Regions from separate parts of the Homo sapiens genome. Here region 1 is linked to region 2. The links are contacts of gene promoters, found by promoter capture Hi-C in blood cells and fetal thymus (Javierre and others, 2016). All regions are on one chromosome and are shown on one strand. Each heading gives the region's core, a stretch centred on a gene start or on the middle of the fragment in contact. The rest is flanking DNA. Distances are from core to core; before and after follow the strand shown.

Region 1 (3,994 bases), core at 1,450-3,949, 1.0 Mb before region 2:
CTTTGCTAAGCCATCAGTCTCTGTTGGCATCACACCCAGCTGTCAGGGTACACTAATTACTGGCTGATTTTCTATTGTTTTTCTACAATGCCTGGAGTATGCAATGCTTCACAGTATGATCCAGATAAATTTGGGTCCCTTTGTAGGATTGTTTTGAGTCCAGTCTTTGGGGTTTGTTCAGACAGTGGAAGGACTCTTCTTAGCTATTTGTTTTGTTTTCTCTGGTAAACTGGCTGGCATATAGTTTATCCCATTATCTTTATTGTTTACCACCAAAATCTCCATTGTTTTTGCGAGTTCCCTTATGCTTGAACTTCTCTACATCCTGTTTTAAATCAAGTTAGTTTCTTGGGGGGTCGGGGGAGAGCTTCAGTGCTCTCTGTTCTTATGATCTACCTCTTCCTTTGGGCAAAATCTTTGAGTCACTGCTCAAGACCTGGGGGTAGGGGCTGTGGCTGGCTTCTCTCAGAGCCCTCCTGCTTTACAGAGCAGGGCTCTGCGTGGTGGCAGTAGCCTCTTGTCTTCTCAGGTTGCTGTTGTAGCATGGAACCTCTGATCCAAACGCAATTGGGGCTTCAGTAATTTCAGCCTGCATCACCTGGGGTAGTCTCCACCTATGAGTGGGGACTGGGTGGAGGAGAGAAGCTTCCATTCTCTCAGCTGCACTCATCTACAATTTAGCCTGTGCAAAATGGGGGCTGAGGAATTCTGGTGGCCTGCCTCTTCTGGGGAGCCATTGTATTGCTTGACTGGGAGCTGGATGGAGAGGGAGCTGTGTTTTCCTGGCTAAGTCCATGAAGAGTGGAGCTTCTGTTAAGTGAGTTGGGGGGATGGAGGAGAGAGGAAGTGAGTCATGGCTCAAGTGTCATAGATTCTCATTGTTCTTATTGGGAACAATTTCCAGAGACTTTAAATGCTTAAAAATCATTTAACTAGATATAAGTGTTTTGCTGGGGAGCAGGTCTGCAGAGCTCCTCATACAATCATTCTGGAAGTGGTCTCTGCTTTTTTCTCTTCCTTCTTTTTTCTTTCTTCCCTTTCTTTTTCTTTCTGTGTGTAGTTTCTGTTTTGTTTTGTTAACCTATGGATCAACAGCAGAAGATGTCAGATGTAAGAAATGATGGTAGGACGTGGGATGCTATTAGTAGGTATATCAGCTAATGTTGAAGACACTACTCTTAAATCAAGGAAAATATGATCAGAATAATAAATTTTTAAAGTATAGTGAACAAATTCTTCAGTAAGGCTGAAGGTTAAAAGTAAAAAGTTTCAAAGCAATACTTTTCTTGGCTCTTCTTTATAATAATTTATTGTCTAGTGAGCTACTAACCCTTTTTCTTTATGACTTGATTGCCCCCGTATGCTAAAATACTTGCTGTTTTACTTTTCCTTTCATTGACATTTACAATCCTTTGTCTTTTAGTAGTTTCACAAGCTTTGAAACAATGTTTAGATAATTTTAAAAAATAAAAATAAAACAATGCTAAGGGTACAATCATTGATGTTTTAAATATATCAGCTGCTATAAGGCACTTTGTCCAATTTTCATAATAATTTTGTCTTAATGGTGTTAAGAGCAAAGATTTAAGATTTACTTTCTTAGTGCCATAAAAATAAGAGCTATTCAGCTGGGTTTCTGAAATATTAAGTGCAATGCAAAAGTTTGTTTGCCTAATATCCCTGGACACCAGGCTTCCCAAAATATCCTGCCCCAGACCATAGCCACATCTTCCCACTAGATTCCTGGGCAACTAGAAACAATGGTAAAGGAAAACAAGGTCACACAATTTTTTTTGAGATGGAGTCTTGCTCTGTCACCCAGGCTGGACTGCAGTGGCGCGATGTCGGCTCACTGCAAGCTCAGCCTCCCTGATTCACACCATTCTCCTGCCTCAGCCTCATGAGTTGCTGGGACTACAGGCGCCCGCCACCACGCCCAGCTAATTTTCTTTTCTATTTTTCGTGGAGATGGGGTTTCACCATGTTAGCCAGGATGGTCTTGATCTCCGACCTCGTGATCCACCCGCCTCGGCCTCCCAAAGTGCTGGGATAACAGGCGTGAGACACTGTGCTCGGCTAAGGTCACACTAATTGTTAGCTGGGAGTGGACCCCAAACCTGTTGAAAGAACCCATCAGCTTTCCTTTAAGAAGGTAATGCCACAGACCACAACAGATAATTGAGGGTTATTCTGTGAGCTTCCACTAAAGCTAAAACATGTGTGGAAGGGACAGAAGAGAGGATAACAGGTTTGCTGGCCTGTTTACCACTTGGGGACGTTTGGATGGATGATGAAGAAGAAAAAGAATCAAAAGGACTGGGGCTCATCACAGGTGGGAATAGTATAATATTAGCTCTTCATTCAGAACCATGGTAGCAAAAAGAGAGAAAACTGCATCTGTGGACTGAATTATTCCCCTCAGCCCTCTACCCCAGTGTGTCTTCTTTTTGGGAATAGAGTAGAAAGCCAGGAAAATGGTGGGGATCTAGGAGGAAGCAGGCATCTCCTCTGACTTGCACGTCCCCCTGTTTCACTGTCCTTTGTTAACTCACTGTGTTTGACAGCCACATCTGTGGTCAGCCAGGGGTGCAGCTGCTCCTACTGGTAGCTAATGGCCATAGAACACCAGGGGCGTCTTAAAGCCCCTTCTGTGATCCGCACCACTGCTCCTGGGTATACTCCCAGGGTCTGTTATATGGGTAACATGCACCTCGCAGCAAGATCTCCTGAAATGGGTTAGGACAGGAATATTAGGTAATTGCAAACCCATACTTCCCACCATTCTTGTCTTCAATTATGGCCAATTACATAGTTACGGCAGCCTTGTATTGTTACAATACAATCTTCCTCTATGCTTAGGAACCTCTATGGAGATGGTTGTGTTACTTCAACCAAAGACAAGAAGAGACTAATCTGCAGAATTAGAACAATTCCCTAGTTCTTCAACAAATCAGTGCTGCTTTTCTTGCCAATAATAGACGTGTTTGTATTTCTCCGTGGAAACCCTTGGGGTAAACATGTTGCTTGTTCTTCCAATAAAGAATTGAACCACCAGAGGGCCTCAGGCGACTCAGGAGGTTTGGGAAGAGACAAAGGCACATGCTTAGAGGGTCTGGAGAAGGCGAGGAAGAAGGAAGGGAGCCAAGTAAAACATGTGACTGACCAGGGGCTTTGGAGAAGACAAGCCCTGCAGGAAGGCACGCATGTGGTCATTCTGTCTGTAGCCTCCCATTCCTCCCTGCTTTCCCCAGCTGCATCTACCTGGATCCTGAATTTGAACCAAGTGGTCCAAACGGCCCGGTCACCTGAGCAACCCCTCTGCAGGAACCGCAGGTGTGGGCGGGGTGGTGGGGAGGAGGCGGGGGGGTGGGGGAAAGGCGGGGGGTGGGGGGAGCTCAGCGGCGCCATCTAGCGTCCAGACAGCGGTGGCTCTGGGAAAGCTGATTGTTTTCTTAGCCAGAGGAGGAAGAGAAGGTTGGTCCTCAGCGCCTGGACGCCTGGTAGACGATAGGGGATGACATGATGAGTAAAATAAGGACAGGAACACGCCGAATCCCCTTTCATAATGATAGGACCACGCCAAATCCCCTTTCTTTTTAAAATTTGACATATACCCTTGAATATATATGTATTCTTATAAAATATGGTTATCTGGTATGTATTTATGTATATTGATATAAAGCTGCAGATTTAAAAATAGTACTTCTTTCATCTCTCTCCATCTACATAGTCTTCGTGGTTTTCAGTAAAATGATAATTTCTGGATTACTTAGATGTAGTTATTATGATCCAACCCTTGAATAAGGGGAGTTGAGAGTTGGTGAAACATCCCTGTCTCAATATTTGTTCATGCCATATTTCCTTTGAAAGAATTTACAGATAAAGGCATCAAATACCTGAAAAAGTAACAAGTTTACTATATTTTACTTGAGAATTTGTATATATATTTTTAAGAAAGCTTTTTAGTTTTGGCGTAATTATAAACTCACAAGAG
Region 2 (4,114 bases), core at 17-2,516:
GAAAAACTACAGCATCAAAAGAACCTCATTATCCTTTTCTCTCTTTTCGTGTGGGACAACCCTTTCAGGCGTGTCCAAGTTATTGAAGTGAAAACTGCAGGAGAGCTCCTTGAGAAAGGTGATCATTTCCTATTTATCCTCATACTTCCAGCATCTCGTTCAATGCAAATCACAGATCACAAATGTTTATTAAATGGACAGTTTTTTAAGGGACTCAATAAACAGTCGAAAACGTTTGTTGAGAGAATTCTCCTCTGTGCCAAATAAGAAACAATACTCAAGAACTGGCAGCAAACAACATCCAGAAAGATGTTAGTCCCAAGAGGCTGCCACTGTCTCCAAGCTAATGTGCCCACAACCACACTGGTCTTGGATGACACGGCCTGGAAGCGCTGGCAATCCCGTCAAATCCCTGAACTCCGCCCCCAAGCACTTTCTTTCCACCTTTTCTTCCAACTCAAAGCCTCTTGCCCAAAGCCAATTTATGACACAGGTTTCTAAGCAATGCCCAGATATTCCATGAAGTACATAACCTAGAAACAGAAGTGGCAAAAAGCATGCCAGATGCCCTCTCTTTTCAGCCCTTTCTTGGTAAGGAGGATCTAGGCAGGGTCAAGCCCTCAAGCGTCCCACCCTGCAGCTCCCACTGGCGTCCGATCCAGACTCCAAGCCTTAGCAGGGCCTCTTCAAAACGCCGAAGGTGGTGGGGAAAACAGGAAGCACCTTCGCATCGCTCCACTCGGGGGTCACCCAACCCAGCATCGACCCAGCGGACGCTCGGCAGCTCGGGGAGGATGCGCGGACACCGAACGGAAGCGTCCGCTCCTCTCCGCCACCCTCCCGGGGTCGGGCGCCGAAGTGCGGGAAGAGAGGGCGGGCCGGCGAGTCCTTCCCTGCAAGCCTGGCTCATCTGCGGGGCCTCCGCCCGAGCCGCCCCGCCTCGCCCGAGCCCGGCTCGGGGATCCTCGGGAGGGAGCGGGCGGCCCCCGGGCCTTCCAGTCCTACCTTCCCCGACTCTCTGGGCTCCATGGCCCCGCTTTCGGAGGCCCGTGCCGCCCCCTCCCCCCGCGGCCTGGCCTGAGGATGCAGCCGCCGCGACCGCCCCGGGGACCCAGGCTCCCGGAGGGGGAGGGCACCCAGGTAGGGAGGGAGCGCGGCCCAAGAACTTCGCTCTCTCACGTCGGGGGGCGGTAGCGCCGGTGGACCCAGGATAAGCGCGCTGAGCTGAGACTTGCGTCGCACCGAGCGAACAGCTTTACGGTCACTGCCCAGCCCCAGGCGGCGGGGCGTGACGGGAAGTGTAGTCCGCTCTAGGTGAGCGGCTCTCGAAGCTGCTATTGGCTCCCGGAACGCAGGTCCTGATTGGACGCCGGCGGCGCGCTTGCGACCCTCCCCGCCTCCCTCCGGCGACAGTTACTAGGCAACGGCGGCGTGGCGTCCTTTAGTCCTCTGCAGCAAGGGCAAAGCGCTCTGATTGGGCTACGCGAAGGCCAATGTCAGCCTTGAAGTTCTAGGTTTTCTTTTATTAAGGAGGGCAATACTTTTTGTTCTATTCACTCAAAAAGTATCATTGGTTGCCTACCATGGGTCAGGCCGTGTTCTAGGGTTTGGGAGAACACAGTTGAATGAGACAAAGGCCTTGCCTTCAAGGAACTCACGATCTATTAGGGAATCAGACCAGAAACAGATAATTACAAAACAGAGACAAGGGCTATGAAAGAGGTAAGCACAAAACATGAATTAAAGCCCGCGTTGTCACCTTAGAGTGAAGCGGTGGGGGATATGAGGTGCTTAGTCAAGGATTTCCTGCGGAAGTGATGCCTCAGCAGAATTAAAGCAAGAGGTAGGGTCTGCCAGGTAAAGGAGGTGCAATGGACTGACCGGTGTTCCCCTCCCAGGAGATGGGGCGTTTGGGAGGTTTAGATGAAGTCGTGAGGGTCAGGCCCTTATGGTGGGATTAGTGTCCTTATAAGAAGTTTTGTCCAAGTGCGGTGGCTCACACCTCTAATCCCAACTCTTTGGGAGGCTGAGACAGGAGGATCACTTGAGCCCAGTAGTTTGAGACCAGCCTGTGCAACACAGTGAGAGATCCCATCTCTATAAAAATAAAATAATTTTGTGAGGTGGAAGGATCACTTGAGCCTGGGTGGTCGAGGCTGCAGTAAGCCGGGATGGCGCTTCTGCACTCCAGCCTGGGTGACAGAGCAAGACCATGTCTCAAAAAAAAAAAAGACTTTTAGGGGGCCAGGGCAGGGATGTGCCTTCATGAAGGTGTTAGTGACCACATGCGTGCTGGGGGAACTAGCTAGGCCCTTTGCCCTTCTGCCCCTCTGCCTTCTGCCATGTGAGGACAGAGCAAAAAGGTGCCCTCCTGGAAGCAGAGACCAGGCTCTCACCAGACACAGACACTGCTGGTGCTTTGATCTTGGATTTCCCAGCCTCCAGAATCATAAGAAATAAGTATCCATAATTTATAAATTACCTAGTTCCAGGGATTTTGTTACAGAAGCACATAGAGATTAAGACAATGGTCAACTAATTTTTTTGTATTTTTAGTAGAGACAGGGTTTCACCATGTTACACAGGCTTCAAGTAAGCGTTTTCCATTATCCAGCTCTGCTCTTCTGGCCAAGGTTGAATAGACCTAAATTCCGTTCGAGGAGTGTAGGGGAGTCTGCATTACTGAAAAAAAGAATGAGACACAAGAAATGTGGAGGAGAAGGCAGAGAGTGAGGACTCTGTGGATTCCAAGTGGCCTGCCACTCACCACCTCGACTATATCACTACCTTGAAGAGCTATATTTCTGCCCATGAGTTATCCATGTCTTTATAACAGATTCTCTTTTAGGGGTTAAAAAACTGGAGGACAGCTAGGGTAAATCATTCTTTTGACACATTTTTCCATAAAAGGTTTTCCATCTTTCCAAGAAAAATGGAGCAGTATCTAGGGGGAAATGGGGAATCAAAGCAGTAGGACTAAGATATGAGTCACAAGATCTTGTTTCTGTGTTGATGGGAAGGAAACTGATGATTCAAAGGGGGATAGTGCAAGGAACCAAGTCCTTGAGAAATCAGGAGGGTCTAGGAACAGGGTATCGAGGGCCCTTCCTAGGGATAGGAACACTTTTTTTTTTTTTTTTTTTTTTGAGATGGAGTCTCTCTCTGTCACCCAGGCTGGAGTGCAGTGGCTCAATCTTGGCTCACTGCAACCTCCACCTCCCAGGTTCAAACAATTCCCCTGTGTCAGCCTCCTGAGTAGCTGGGACTACAGGCGTGCACCATCACACCCTGCTAATTTTTGTATTTTTAGTAGAGACAGGATTTCACCATGTTGGCCAGGCTGGTCTCGAACTCCTGACCTCAAGTGATTCACCTGCATTGGCCTCCCAAAGTGCTGGGATTACAAGCCTGAACCACCGCGTCTGGCCGGGATAGCAACACTTTTGGTTATGCCAGGAGGGAAGAAGAAGATGGAGTAGATGTACATTTGTTTGTAGATTTACTGAGGGAATTTCCATCCGATGATGTCTCTTTGAGACAAGATCATCTCATGAAAATGAAGTGGGGAATAGAAGGTATACCAAGTCATCTTGGAGAATGGGAAATAGAGCTTACCTCAAACCTTGAATTAAAGGCCAATTTGAAGTTTATGATCACAAATTTCAGTTTAAAAAAAGCCTGGCTGCGAAATTCTGTTTAGAAGCAGAAAGTTGGGTAGATATTTGGCTTCATCCTGGCTTGGAGTATTGCCAGGTAGGTATGAAGGAGGCACAGAAAAGCAAGGGAATGAACAGTACTTGCAGGAGTAATTATGATGGTAGGAAAGTGATTCTCAATTCCAGCTGCACATTGGAATCACCCATGGACCTTTCAAACATCCTGATTTAATAGGCCTAGGATGGGGCATGGGCACTGATTTTTTTAATTTGTTTAATTTTTTTGTTTGTTTTTGTTTTTTAAGAGACAGGGTCTCACTCTGTCACCCAGACTGGAGGGCAGTTGCGTGATCTTGGCTGACTGCAGTCTTGACCTCCTGGGCTTAAGGTATCCTCCCACCTCACCCTTCCGAGTAGCTAGGACTACAGGAGTGTGCCATCACGCCTGGCTAGCTGTT

Evidence for each region. The method cuts DNA at HindIII sites, captures the fragments that hold promoters and counts their contacts. A CHiCAGO score of 5 or more calls a contact.
Region 1: a fragment that was not itself captured here is called in contact with the fragment with the promoter of ZNF862 in region 2 in 2 of 17 cell types (activated CD4 T cells and naive CD8 T cells); the score reaches 6.4 in activated CD4 T cells.

The regions. Positions count from the first base shown.
Region 1 is chr7:150,876,348-150,880,341 of GRCh38, reverse strand. It overlaps LOC105375567 (a long non-coding RNA gene), which reads left to right and starts at 3,212. Exons shown (of 5, transcript XR_928171.3): 1 at 3,212-3,333. The HindIII fragment of the contact is 2,523 bases long and covers 1,438-3,960 here.
Region 2 is chr7:149,835,527-149,839,640 of GRCh38, reverse strand. ZNF862 (zinc finger protein 862) reads right to left here and starts at 1,266. Exons shown (of 8, transcript NM_001099220.3): 1 at 1,006-1,266. The coding sequence starts at 1,029. RefSeq lists a silencer at 731-1,190. The HindIII fragment of the contact is 19,921 bases long and covers 1-4,114 here.